Regions from separate parts of the Homo sapiens genome. Here all the other regions are linked to region 1. Evidence: promoter capture Hi-C in 16 types of primary human blood cells and fetal thymus (Javierre and others, 2016). All regions are on one chromosome and are shown on one strand. Each heading gives the region's core, a stretch centred on a gene start or on the middle of the fragment in contact. The rest is flanking DNA. Distances are from core to core; before and after follow the strand shown.

Region 1 (2,700 bases), core at 120-2,619:
GTTGAATGGTAGTTCTGTTTTTAAGTCTTTGAGGAATTGCCACACTGTTTTCCACAATGGTTGAACTAATTTACACTCCCACCTAGTATATAATCCTTCCTTTTGGAAACAAATTTTATCAGTATATTCAATTCTGAACACCCATGTTTTAGAAAATGTTAAGCCTATTGTCCTTTAATCACTATTTGCTTACACATTAAAATGTAAAACAGGCAAAAGAGAAAGAAGGAAGAAAGGAGGGAGGGAGGGAAGGAGAAAAGTGAGAAAGAAAGAAAGATAAAAGAAAAAAGAAAGAAGAAAGAAAGAAAGAGAAGAAATAAAGAGAAAAAAGAAAGGAAGAAAGGAAGGAAGGAATGAAGAAGAAAAGAAAAAAGAGAAAGAAAGAAGGAAAGAAAAAGAAAAAAAGAAAGAGAAAGAAAGAAAGAAAGAGAAAGAAAGAAAGAGAGAGAGAGAGAGAAAGAGAGAGAAAAGAAAATTTTCTCCAGATTAGAATTATTGGCTGCTATTGTTTGGATGCTGGGTACTAGCTGTGATTACCCTTTGTGAATGTAGGAATGCACAGATTCCAAAAGTGAGTCTCATAGAAAAAGTCAGCATTCAAATATGTTTTAAGGTTACTCTATCCAAACCCCAAAGAACCCACAGAAGATGAAGCAGTAATTTTAGCTTCTCTTGGTGTATTGTACATGCATTTAAGGCCAGTTCCTTCCTTCAAATTCCCATGTGTTTTGTAGTTACCAACACACCTTTCAACCCTATCTGTTTATATACATCATATAGTCCTCTGTCAATTGCATAAAAGTTGTCCCCTTTGTGACTGTAATCGCCTTTTCCAATACACATCTACTCAGAATGCAGGTCCTTAAACAGCAGGCTGCCTTGAAAACCCTCTCCAATCTTCTTCGATCATCAGCTTTGAGATGCATATTCCTAGAGCCCATATCATCTTCTTCATCACTATCATAAACGTCTCCACATATTGATGAACGTTTGGAGAATCGATTTATGACAAGGGAGTTTACTCTTCCTGCATCCGCGGCTTCTTCGTGATTTTGTCCTAGTCACCGGGCCTATCCCACCTGCTGGGGATGCCGCCCCCTCGGAAGTGCCTGAAATCTCCCCACTTACCCAACTAGCCTCAGCGCCTCCTGTGTGCTGCAGCAGATGGCGCGCTGCAGACCCCAGCCTGGTGCCTCCGCGACTCCTCCCCAACCATGATTTACAGGCGGGGACAGCCACATTCCTGCGCCCCAACTTCCACCTCCGCTTCCTGCGCGCGCGAGACTCAAGCTGCCACAGTGGCTCTGCCGCCAGCGTCCCAGCTCCTCCCACACCCGAGTTTTTATTTCCTGCTCCCTCTCCAGCCCGGCCCAGGCCAGCCTACCGGCGACTAGGATGCTTTCGCTTTCGCTCTCGCTTTCCAATACTCGGGACTGGGGAAACCGGGAGAATAGAAGCAGGCAAGGACCGCCGTGGGCACGGGGTCAGTGAGACAGGGTCCTGCTCGCGGCGTCAAGGAGGAGCGCTGTGGGTGGGTAGGGTAGGCGCGCCCCCTCGGCCTTGCCTTTCCAACCACTCTTTTTTGCACGCCAACAGGTGTCCCCAGCGCAGCCAATCGGCTTCCGAAGTAGGTGAGTTGCTGCCTGAAGAGAAAAGACAAACTCCAGTATCTTTCATTCCATTGGCCAGACGCGCCATTCCCCAAGTGAGTTCTGTTCTCCAACCAAAGTGCTGGATTCCAAGGGACTGGAAGGGAAAGTCCCTAAAAATCACGAGTTCAGGCGTCTGAGACTTGGTGGGAACGGACCTTCCTCTTAGGTGAGTTACTCTTTGGTTCTGGGGCTGACCTGGAGTTTTGCCAGGATTCATTGGCCGCAGCAGGATGCTGGTGGGGACAGGGTAAATAAAATCTGCACTCCTGCGGGCTTTTATTGTTGAAAGGGGCACTGACGCTCTCCCTGGAAACTTAAAAAGAACAGCCAAGTGAACGGATGTGTCTTTCTTTTGCAGTGCCCAAGCCTGTTCTAATTTTTAAAAACTGATGTCTATTAAGACCCAATGTTAACTTTATGAAAATGGTTCCTAAGGAGATTCACATCTCTGTGTCCGAATTCTGTGTGCAGCAAACATCATCTCAAGTGCGTTTTCCCAACTACGCTTCTTTCCAGGATAAAATACTCTAAGTGACAAATGTTGAGTACATTATCAGGTATGTTCACTATTGTGAGAACTGAAGCCATCTACACTCACATAGCTTGCCAACTACATTAACCTGACTTCTTATTCCATTATTTTCATCAACATACATTTACTATTTCAAGAAACTTTTGCCAGGGACCGGAAAGTTGCAAATATCTTTATTGCTTAATCCAGTATCTTCTTCAAAGATCCAACCACTCTTCAATGGAAAACATCAAAGAACAGTTTACATTCTAAGACTTTGAACCTTTACCTCAAAATCCTAGCCTTGTTTTATCTACCAATCCTAAACTTTTACCCGTAGCTGACTCAATTCTAACCAATTCCCCTCATTAAATATTAGACTTACAATGGGACTTCAAAATCTCAATACATATAGCCCAAACTTGCTCTTCCCTCTCTGAGACACCACTTAAATTCTGTCAAGTTATTGTTCTCCATTACCTAAGTGAGCAAGAAACTTAGCTTTGTCTTATCAACAGGTTGCTTTGATATTACTGG
Region 2 (2,700 bases), core at 101-2,600, 670 kb after region 1:
ATGTGGCTGGAGTAGGGTGAGGAATGGGGAGAGTGGGCAGGAGGTTCTGAGAGGTCAGTGGGGGTGATTATGTAGGCTGCAGGAAGAGGACTTTGGAATATCACTCTGGCTGCCTGGTGGAAAACAAATCCTAGTGCACACCCATTTGTGTGGCTGCTGACATCAAGTCTTCATGGAAGCTACTCAACAAGTAAGGAAACAGCTGTCTTCCACATCCTATATTGTGGATGGTTTTATTTTTACCAGGGCTTGAAAAGATCTCATGATCTGATTATGGGGCACATTAGCTAGCCCCTTCCTTCTGCTTTTACGTTATTTTCACTCTACATTAAAAAAAAAAAAGATATATAACCCAAATGTTTACTGGGTACCCAGTAGCCTCTGTACATACCAGTTTAAAGAGCAACTGGTGGCAGTTCTAATAAAAACTGTGGAGGAAGAGACTAAATTATCTCAAGGAGTATGAGATTTTGTTATTCCCTAGCTTCCATCCCATTGCTGCTCGATGCTGAATTCACTCACCAAGATTGCAAAATTGCCTTCTGTAAACTCCGTAGCTTCAGTGGAAGGTCCCCGTATGTCACTTAAATTTTTAGGTTCTCTTCTTACTTTTGGCACAAGTGGTGCCCTTTCAATAAATCTAAGCTTGGGTTTTTCAGGAATGGAAACATCTAAAAGAAGCACAGACAACCAGGATAAAGTAAAACTATACATCTCAAAAGATCTATTTTCCTAGAAAGATTTATAACAGGTGAAAGTCTTAATTTCTTTCTTCTTCATTTTTTGGTAGAGACAGGGTCTCACTATGTTGCCCAGGTTGGTTTCAAACTCCTGGCCTCAAGTGATTTTCCTGCCTTTACCTCCCAAAGTGTTGGGATTACAAGTGCGAGCCACCATATCCAGCCTGAAAGTCTTAAAGTTACCACTGAACAGTAACTGTAAAGGTATATTACATTTTTGCAGATGCTTTTAGTGACACTGGAATCTTCTGGCTGTGACAGTGGCTAATGCAAATGTTTCTAAAACTTTAAAGATAGCAAAGTTTTATCCTCTGAATCCAAATGCACTTATTAATCACCAACTCTGTGCTTAACACTGTAACAGGGATTGTTTGGAAACCACTAGTTCACTTAATCTTTAAAATAACTTTATAGCCTTGGTATTCTTTCAGGGCTCTCTTTTTAAAAATTTTAAACTTGTCAAAGTTTAACACAGCTATATCAAAGGGCCAAATTAAAAATATACAGCTCAGTGAATTACCAGAAAGTGAACACATGAACACACACCACTATTACCCAGATCAACAAACAGGATATTAGGCAGGTAGTATTTTTAATCTCCATTTTATAGAAGAGGAACCCGAGGGCTAAAAACACTTTATAATCTGGTCTATGCCATCCAGTTCAACAGCAAAGCTACATACCATGTCACAAAAATATATACATATATTTCCCTGCCTCTCTGGATGTTAATGGGGGTAGTGGAAGAATACTATATTGTACATAAAAATATCTAAGTTCTCCAGCTCTGCCACATTCTTGTTGAGAAACTTACAACCTAGGAATCCTTTGATCAATGCTCTTTCTCTCATATATGCAGGGACTTTTCATGCTGAGACCTGCACAGGTCAGTGTGCCAGGTTTTGGTGGGTGGGCAAAACTTCAGGCCAGACATGTGACATCTTCTTTATCATCCTTACTTGACGATTTGGGGAAAAAAGTTAACATACAAATCATTTTTAAAAATTTCTTAAATGAACCAAGTATGGCTTTATAATGGAGACAAATACAAAATAGAAGAGTTTGAGGAAATACCAAATTATTACTATCAGAGTTTCAGAAGCTGCCCCTCAACTTCTATATGTAGCTACAGAGAATCTTAGTAATGCTTTCTTTCACCTACAAGTCAAAATGTACTTTCAAAACGTGGTTTAACAATTCTGTACAGAAGACCCTCAGATGTACAGACCCTATTCATTTTTTTTGAGGGTTCCAGTATATTTCTTTTTTAAAAAGTAAACTAGTTTTACGATATTGTGGCTTAAATTTAACAAATTAAAGCTTTTTCACATATCGTTAGATGACTGCATATATGTAAACTTATTTGGAAAGAACATCAAAAGTTCAGGTTTTTTTTTTCTTTTGAGACAGAGTCTCACTCTGTTGCCCAGGCTGGAGTGCAGTGGCCTCCTGAGTAGCTGGGATTACAGGTGTAAACTACCACGCCCAGCTAATTTTTTGTATTTTTAGTAGAGATGGGGTTTCACCAGGTTGGCAGGCTGGTCTCCAACTCCTGGCCTCAAGTGATCCACCCGCCTCCGCCTCCTAAAGTGCTGTGATTACAGGCGTGAGCCACCATGCCCGCTCAAAAATCCAGATTTCAGGCCAATGACTACTGGCTGAGTGGACCATGGGACACACACCAGTGGGAGGTTTTAGGGGAGCTATCTCATTAGACGCTGCTCCGTAAGAGCAAGGAACTTTTTTGGTTTCCTTTGTCTTTGATTTATTTCTAGTGCTCAGAATATTAGTTGGCAAAACTGTAAGCTCTAAAAACATATTTATTGAAAGAGTGAACGGGGATGGGAAACACGAGAACATTCCTATGTCATCTCCCACCCGCTCCTGGTTTCCATCAGAGAAAAGATTTACGAACAGGAGAAAGACAAGCTCTCACCTTCAAAACTTGGTACTGGGAGCA
Region 3 (2,700 bases), core at 152-2,651, 620 kb before region 1:
AGAAGATAAGTGGTTTAACCAAGGTTTACAAGCGGTAAATTCACTTACAGTTTGCAAGTGGTAAACTCAACTTTTAAATTTTGGTTTGCCTGAAGCCATGGCTGCTATTCTTGCCACTATAACCAAAACAGTGTAGCCTAGAGCAGATCACTTTGATGCCCTAGTGCCCTTGCTTGTCCCTTGAAAATTCACCTCATGGGCACTTTACATTGTTGATATACAGCCTAAAAGAAAGCATCCCAGACAAGGAATTAACAAACTTTAGTTCTGTTTCTAAATCAAGTCACCTTGACCTATTCATGTAATCAACTGCTTCTTCCACAGGTAAATGGAAATAATAATCCTTGCCCACTTTCTCCCTTCTGTCATCCCCTCTACTAATACTACCTTAGATGAAATACATTAAGCTTCATAGAGCTGGGAATATTATAAAACTTTGCAAATGCATGGCTTACCACAAATTCGGTCTTGTGATTACCGGTAATGTGAAGTCCTTTGGTATGATTTTCTTCCTTTTAACCTTACCCCTCGATAACTTTACCCAACAAATGGCATTAGTTCCCCACCCCTATCTGTTGGCACTTACTGCTAGGTACACACTGCTGCTCCTACTCAAAGTGCCTGTGATTTAGAAAAAGGGCTTTCTTTGGCCTCAGAGTACATGCAGCTTGAGTACAAGGAAGACAAAGTGGGGTGTAAGGGTTGGTGGACCACCTCTTGTACTCTACAATGAATCCCAGAGGTCCTCTGAGTATTGAGTTCCAACTTCCCAAGACAGTAATCTGCTCATTAATGCACACTGATTTGGCTTCCTTGCCTTTTCTTTTTTGTTTGTTTGTTTTTTTGGGTTTTTTTTTTTTTTAGACGGAGTCTCACTCTGATGCCCAGGCTGGAGTGCAGTGGCGCTATCTTGGCTCACTGCAACCTCCTCCTCCCGGGTTCAAGCGATTCCTCTGCCTCAGCCTCCTGAGTAGCTGGGACTACAGGCTGCACACCACCACACCCGGCTAATTTTTTGTATTTTAGTAGAGACGGGGTTTCACTGTGTTGGTCAAGATGGTCTCGATCTCCTGACCTCGTGATCTGCCCACCTCGGCCTCCCTAAGTGCTGGGATTACAGGCGTAATCCCTGTAGAATATAGAAAATATCTCACTTTTGGCTCTTCTAGCTGTACATCTAGAGATTGCCTCCTAAATAGACTACTATACACAAGTCCTAGTCTCAGCATCCACTTCTAGAAAAACCCCAAATTGTGAGACAATCTAGGGTAAGTAGTAGCTTCACCAGGTAGTTTGTGTAAGGGAACTGAGTGACAATTCCCCCCACTCTGTCTTTCTTTTCCTCAGATAGTGTGTTATACGGCCCATCTTGCCTCCTTTACTGAAAGCTCTGAAAATTTCACCTTGCCCAACTCAAAAATTATCTTATATATCCTGTAACTTTCTTCCGTCCTACTTTTCCTCCATTTCAAAATTTTCAGATTATCTTAGGAAAATCTCCAAGTTCTTCATTTTATTTTTGAGCCTCCAATATTTTCTAACTCATGTCTGAAAATGCAAGAGCACCTAGAGACAGAAAGTCCTATTTTCTAAGTGTTATTGAACATAATGAAAATAACCACTTCAAACTTCCAAAGCATTGAAAAGTGTCCCTAAGGTCCCCTCTCAGAATCACTATAAATGTCTTCTTTTTCCTCCTTAACTTCATATAAACCCAATTTTCTTTAAGTAGCACCTTTCAGGATGTAATGGACTGAATGTGTCGTTCCAAAATATGTTGAAGGCCTAACCCCCAATGTGGCTGTATTTTAAGTAAAGAAGTAATTAAGATTAAACGAAATCATAAGGGTTGGGCCCTGATCTGATAAGATTGGTTTCCTTACAAGAAGAGACACCAGATCTCTTGTGGTCTCTCTCTCTCTCCCTCTTTTCACCCTGTGAGGACAAAGCAAGAAGGCAGCTATATGCAAGCCAAGAAAAGAGCCCTCAACAGAATTCAAACCTGCAGACCTTAATCTGAGACTTCTCATCTCCAGATCTATGAGAAAATAAATTTCTGTGGCTTAAGACACCCCATTTATGGTATTTTGTTTTGGCAACTGCGCAGACTAAGACACAGGATAAATGTAAATTGATTTCTCTTATAATCGTCTAATTTTTCTTCCTTTTTTGTTTGCTAGTGGGGTATCAGGATGTTTTAAAACTAGTTTTCACTATAAAGAGTATTGCAGTAATATCAAATACGTAATAGTTCTCTCTGGATTATAATTAAACAAAGTAGCATGAATACCATCATTTCCAAAACAATTTTAAATCTTAGAGGATGACAACACCCTCACAACCTTTTTCTTCCCCTTTGTAATAGTGACAGATACTGCAAAATTGGACAGGAGCAAGAAGCTTGTACTCTAAATATGCGAGCTATCCACAGGATGACTTAACCTTAAACTACAGAGTTTCACTGTGCTCTGGTGTAAAAAGCATCAAGAAGTGATCAAACACTATTTTTGTGTATTAGTTTTTCATGACGATATACAATATACGTTCTGTACCAACACTGAGTTTATTTGTTCAATGTAAACAAAAAAGAGAATTTATTTGCTCACATAATTTCCTAGTCTATGGTTAAGATGCTGCTATGGTAGAACTGAGTGGCTCAAAAAAAGAAAACACAGCCTCTCCATTACTTGGTTCTACGTT
Region 4 (2,700 bases), core at 146-2,645, 530 kb after region 1:
AATCATAGCCCACTGCTACCTCAAACTCCTGGGCTTAAACCATTCCCCCACCTCAGCCTCCCCAGTAGCCAAGCCTTCAGGCACGTGCCACCACATGTGGCTATATATATATATGTACATTTCAACCACAAAGTTTTAGAGTAGTTTATTGCTCACTAATAGATAGTGGGAATGTGTCCGTTTAGAAAAATTATACAAAACTTGGAAATAAGGAAAAAGGATTGTTGTGTGCCTTGCAATGTTGTAATAAGAACATTATCTAACAAGCCTGCCTAAAGGTCATTTAAAGTTCTACAGAGAGGTAACCTTGTTTGACTTAGTGTTTATTATTAATTAATGAGATCCCAGACTCAGTAAAGTTAGATATTAGTTTATAGAAGATTAACAAGTTGCAAATTATTTTTGTCCAGTGGAGATAATTTCATTTTGGTGGGAAAGATCATCTCAAAGGAGACAGTTTTATTGCCACACAGGACATTAACCAATAATATATTTAACTTTTGAGTCTTAATTCAGCCATTTCCCCCACTATATAGTTCATAGTTTCTTGTGTCCTCCTTTGAATCAGCTTCACCACCTTGCTGTTTCTTTTCATTAATAAGATAAATAAATATTTTGACACATGCTCATAATGTAATTGAAAGAGAATAATTTTTATTTAGCTTTTTGAAAGTTATACTTTGGCAAACTATTAAACTTTTTTTTTTGCAGGGGATTCAACTCAATACGTATTTATCGAGAATCTATTATGTAAAATGGTGAGAAGTGATATCTATATTATAGCCTACTGTGCAATAGCATTATGTCTTTAAAAACGCAATGTACATACCTTAATTAAAAAATGCTTTATTGCTAAAAATGCTAATGATCATCTAAGCCTTTAGCGAATTTTAATCTTTTTCCTGATGGAGGGTCTTGCCTCGATGTTGATAGCTGCTTACTGATAAAGGCAGTGGTTGCTGAAGGTTGGGGTGGCTATGGTAATTTCTTAAAATAAGACAAGGAAGTAAGCCACCTCGATTGACTTTTCCTTTCATGACGGAAAAGTTTCTCTGTAGCATGCAGCGCTGTTTGGCATTTTACCCATGAATTAGAACTTTCAAAATTGGAGGCAATTCTCTCAAACACTGCTTTATCAACTAAGCTTGTGTAATACTCTAAATCCTTTATTATCATTTCAGCAATGTTCACAGCATCTTCACCGGGAGAAGATTCTATCTTAAGGAAACTCTTTTCTCATGCATAAGAAGCACCTCCTTACCTGTTAAAAGTTTAATCATGAGATTGCAGGAATTCAGTCACATCTTCAGGCTCCACTTCTAATTCTAGTTCTCTTGGTATTCCACCGCACCTGCAGTGACTTCCTCCACCGAAGTCTTGAACCTCTCAAAGTCATCCATGAGGGTTGGAATCAACTTCTTCCAAAGTCCTGTTAATGTTTGTAGTGTTATGAAATATATATACATATAGGTTTTCATACACAGGAAACAGAATCTCTTTGACCTTCTCTTGCCTTCCTTTTACCTGCCTTCCTTTCACCTACCCCAAAGCAGGACTCTAATCTTCTGCTTTTATAATTGTGGATCATAAGACTCATTTCAGAGAGGGTCCCAACCCATGGCCTGGGGGAAGGAATGCTGATATAATGAAGCTTCCATAAAAATCCAAGAGGACAGCTTCCTGATAGCTGAACAAGTGGAGGTTTCTGGGGAATGGCTACCTGGGGAGGGCATGGGAGCTCCGTGTCCCTTCCTCCATACCTCTCCCTGTGCATCTCTTCATCTGGATCCTTCGTGATATCCTTTATAATAAACTGGTAAATATAAGTGTTTCCTTAGTTCTGTGAGCCACTCCAGCAAATTATTGAACCCAAAGAGGGGGTCATGGGAACCTCAACTTGAAGCTGATTGATCAGAAGTTCCAGAGACCTGGACTTGCAACTGGTGTCTGGGGGGAGGAGGGAGTAATCTTGGGGACTGAGCCCTTTACCTGTGGGAACTGACATATCTCCAGGTAGTGTCAGAATCGAATTGGAGGATACCCAGCTGGTCTCCACTGCTTGTTGGTGGGGAAAATCCCCCATATATTTGGTCACAGAAGTCTTCTGTGTTGATTGTTGTGGTGTGAGAGCAGAGGACAAATGCAGTTTAAGTTTTTCCATGACAATGTTGATACTTTGACCCCTTCCTATGACTCACAAATGTTCTTTTTGCGGGCAGGGGGCAAACAAGTGCAGTGGCACGATCTCGACTCACTGCAACCTCCACCTCCTGGGCTCAAGCCATTCTCCCATCTCAGCCTCCCAAGTAGCTGGGGCTATAGGCGGGCACCATCATGCCCGGCTAATTTTTGTATTTTTTGTAGGGACAGGGCTTCGCCACGCTGCCTGTACCTGGCTTCACAAATGTTCTTAATGGCATTTAGGATGGTAAATCCTTTCCAGGTTTTTTTGTTTTGTTTTGTTTTCCTTTATCTAGTCATCCAGAAGTATCCAGAAGGTTTTCAATTTCTTTTGCCCAGATCCATCAAAGGAATCATTATCTATGACAGCTATAGCCTTACAAAATGTATTTCTGAAATAATAAGACTTGAAAGTTGAAATTGCTGTGTGGGCTGCAGAATGGATGTTGTGTTAGCAGGCCTGAAAACGATTAATCTTGTACATCTCCATCAGAGTTCTTGGGTGACCAGCTGCATTGT
Region 5 (2,700 bases), core at 187-2,686, 610 kb after region 1:
GGGATCGAGGCTGCAGAGAGCGGTGATCGCGCCACTGCACTCAACTTGCGCAACAGAATGAGACTCTGTCTAAAAAACAAACAAACAAACAAACAAACAAACAAACAACCCCCAAACTCCCCAAAAATGTGTTAGGGGAAGGAGGTGGGACAGTGTGTATTTCTGATCTACTCGCCTTTCCTAGTATGACCACCAGGGGGCGCGGAAGCCCTCCTGGTACTAAGGCGGGGACAACCTGCCCAGCGAGCACAGCGGGCAGAAGGAAGTGTGCCGGACGCGAGAGAGAACTACGGCCGAGACCCGCGGGGCCGGCTCAAAGCCCGACCTCTGCCATACGCACCGTATCTTTATGGGAGCCGATGAGGTCAGCAGGGAGCACGCGTTCAGATGGCAGAAGAGGGCAAAGTACTGCTAGAATTACAAAGATATTTACAGCTTTTTAACCTGAAAGCACAGAGCAGATCCTATTCTTCAGAATTAAATCTTCGGCTCGCCAGTCCCGTTTATGGATCTCCACTCTGATGAATGTGCCATTTGTTCCCAAGAAGACAAATAGGGTAGGGAGAAGAGGGAGAGGCGGGGAGAAGACTCGAGATAAAGGGACGATCTGCTTTTCGGAAGCAGAAGCCGCCTGGGAACCACCTGCACACCAAGCAGGCTGCGAGGACGGGGAGCGCTCCAGTGCAAAGTTCTGTATTTTAAAGCCCCTCCTCGCTCACAGGCTTCACAGCGAACTACGAAGTGGGTACCATCTCTGATTTACAGACACGGGAACGGGGTCCTCTTGAGAAACGATGCTTTCCCAAACGTCTGCAAATTGTGAGTGCCAAGTGTCTCCACTGGCACTAACAACATCGAGCTGCTTACGTTTCTCGGAGCGGTCCCGATTTCCAACAAGCAAAAGATCCAAATTCTCTGACCACCCTGACCGTCCTGTATCTCCAGATCTCCAGGTCTTTCCTCTGGACACCTCCTCCATCCCCCCACTTTCACTGCCAGCAGCCCTGAGGCTGCGCGGGATCCCGCTACTCGGAATGCCTTCCTCCTGGCGGGATATTTTTAGAACACTCGACTGCCACCCAATGTAGCCCACATCACATTGTCTTATTTGTTTTCGGGAGCTTGTCCCCGCCTAGCAAGGAGTCGGCTAAGAACTGGATCCTAGCGAGGAGCCCGGCACAGACAGCGAATGACCGCAGCCAGACAGTCGCTCTTGCTCTTCCTCGGCCCTGCGGCAGGATCCGCCGGTGCAGGGGCCTCTCCCCGGACTCCACGCGTGTCTGGAGGGCTCTCGGGTTAGGGAAGGGGGCTTTGGAGACGCCCCGGGCGGCCGGGCGGTGGCGGGACGCGGGCCCTTTAAGAAGGAGCGAGGGGCGCGGCCAGGTAGGGGCGGGTCCAGGGCGGATCAGCGCTGCGCCGGCGCCGGCCCGGGAGCCGGATTTGGAGCGCGAGGCGCCGGTGGGGGCGGAGGGGGCTGCGCGGCGGAGGCTCCCGTGGCCTCGGACGCTCCTCCTAGCTAGCGGCCGCCGCCCGCCGCCGCCTGCGCCTCCAGCTCCTTCGCCCCGGCGGGCCCGGCCGCCGCTTCCGGCAGCTCACCTGGGAAGCGCTCACCTGGGACGCGCTCACCTGGGACGCGCTACCTGCCTCCGGGCGCCTGGGCTTCAGGATGAAGGACCGTCTGGAGCAGCTGAAGGCCGTGAGTTTCGCCGCAGGCGGGGTGCTGCCAGGAGGGGTGCTGCATGGGAGAGGGGCTTCCCTTTGCTCCCCAAGTCGAGGCTGGAGGGGGGCCCGAGCCGGAGGCTTGCCCTCCCCAAGCCCCCACCGCTTCCCGCGCCGGTTCCGCACCCTCCCCTCCCCTCCCCTGCGGGGTCATGTGCCCGGTGATTCATCGCTAGGCAATGATTTTCCTGAACGCCTCTAACTCTCCCACCCCGCAAGCTGGACAGTGTCTGTCCAGAGCTGGTTCCCGAAGCGGGTGCTTGGGCCCGGGAGGTCAGGGGTCCCTTCACCACCTGCCCACTGCTGCCTGGCACTATGCCCAGGACCAGCCTCCTTCTCCCTTTCCTGTTTCTCTCCTGAGGTGCTACAGGCCTGGCTGCCCCTTCCCCCAGGGAGCAGCTCAGAGCTCTCTGGTGACCTCTGGAGCTGTGAGCCGGTCACATGCTGGGATGGGTCAGCTCCTCTCCAACCGGTGGTCTGTAATTGTTATCCCCGGGTGTCATTGTCCCCCCCTCCCCCGCCGTATCTTTTGGAACAGCTGTGGTTAGGTCAAAGGATCTGAAGGTAGACTACCTCCAGCCTTGGCTGCGCAAAAGCTGTAAAGCCTTAGGTTACTTACTGTGAGTCTCTGTTTCCTTATCTATCAAATGGGAATGATCATACCCTAGGAATTTGTTGGGAGGATCAGCTGATACAATGGAACTTGATACAGAAAAGGGTTAACGCATAGGGTTTTAAGCCAGATATTCATTGACTCATTCAGTACATAATTATTGAGTGTATTCTATGGGGAGGTCCAGTGCTAAGCCTTGGAGATTCAGTGGCACAGGTTCTACCTTAATAGAATTAAAATCTAGCCCTTGACACTCAAGAGTTTAGTCCATCTACTTTGGAGCTTGTTACAAGTGTAGCAGCTTAGGCCTGAGTCTAGCCCCGCAGAATCAGAATCTAATTATTCATCCATTTCCCCAGGTGATTCAT

Evidence for each region. The method cuts DNA at HindIII sites, captures the fragments that hold promoters and counts their contacts. A CHiCAGO score of 5 or more calls a contact.
Region 2: a contact is called between a fragment that was not itself captured here and the fragment with the promoter of FAM111A in region 1, in 1 of 17 cell types (non-activated CD4 T cells). The highest score is 5.7, in non-activated CD4 T cells.
Region 3: a fragment that was not itself captured here is called in contact with the fragment with the promoter of FAM111A in region 1 in 3 of 17 cell types (naive CD8 T cells, total CD4 T cells and activated CD4 T cells); the score reaches 8.2 in naive CD8 T cells.
Region 4: a fragment that was not itself captured here is called in contact with the fragment with the promoter of FAM111A in region 1 in 1 of 17 cell types (total CD4 T cells); the score reaches 6.5 in total CD4 T cells.
Region 5: the fragment with the promoter of STX3 here is called in contact with the fragment with the promoter of FAM111A in region 1 in 5 of 17 cell types (activated CD4 T cells, non-activated CD4 T cells, naive CD4 T cells and 2 more); the score reaches 7.0 in activated CD4 T cells.

The regions. Positions count from the first base shown.
Region 1 is chr11:59,141,487-59,144,186 of GRCh38, forward strand. FAM111A (FAM111 trypsin like peptidase A) reads left to right here and starts at 1,370. Exons shown (of 6, transcript NM_001312909.2): 1 at 1,370-1,460; 2 at 1,597-1,818; 3 at 2,011-2,209. It overlaps FAM111A-DT (FAM111A divergent transcript), which reads right to left and starts at 1,322. Exons shown (of 4, transcript NR_110184.1): 1 at 1,129-1,322. It also overlaps the pseudogene LOC100422399. RefSeq lists an enhancer at 1,138-1,587. The HindIII fragment of the contact is 3,476 bases long and covers 1-2,700 here.
Region 2 is chr11:59,807,179-59,809,878 of GRCh38, forward strand. MRPL16 (mitochondrial ribosomal protein L16) reads right to left here. Exons shown (of 4, transcript NM_017840.4): 2 at 2,677-2,700; 3 at 523-671. Among named protein-coding and RNA genes, the nearest start is that of MRPL16, 2.2 kb to the right of the region's middle. The HindIII fragment of the contact is 1,415 bases long and covers 644-2,058 here.
Region 3 is chr11:58,520,404-58,523,103 of GRCh38, forward strand. No RefSeq gene overlaps it. Among named protein-coding and RNA genes, the nearest start is that of OR5B21, 14 kb to the left of the region's middle. The HindIII fragment of the contact is 1,993 bases long and covers 406-2,398 here.
Region 4 is chr11:59,674,216-59,676,915 of GRCh38, forward strand. It overlaps PATL1-DT (PATL1 divergent transcript), which reads left to right. Exons shown (of 4, transcript NR_187296.1): 3 at 712-758; 4 at 1,182-1,826. Among named protein-coding and RNA genes, the nearest start is that of PATL1-DT, 6.3 kb to the left of the region's middle. The HindIII fragment of the contact is 507 bases long and covers 1,143-1,649 here.
Region 5 is chr11:59,753,940-59,756,639 of GRCh38, forward strand. STX3 (syntaxin 3) reads left to right here and starts at 1,437. Exons shown (of 11, transcript NM_004177.5): 1 at 1,437-1,696. The coding sequence starts at 1,667. RefSeq lists enhancers at 1-367, 57-351, 117-411, 348-507 and a silencer at 1,378-1,637. The HindIII fragment of the contact is 11,536 bases long and covers 1-2,700 here.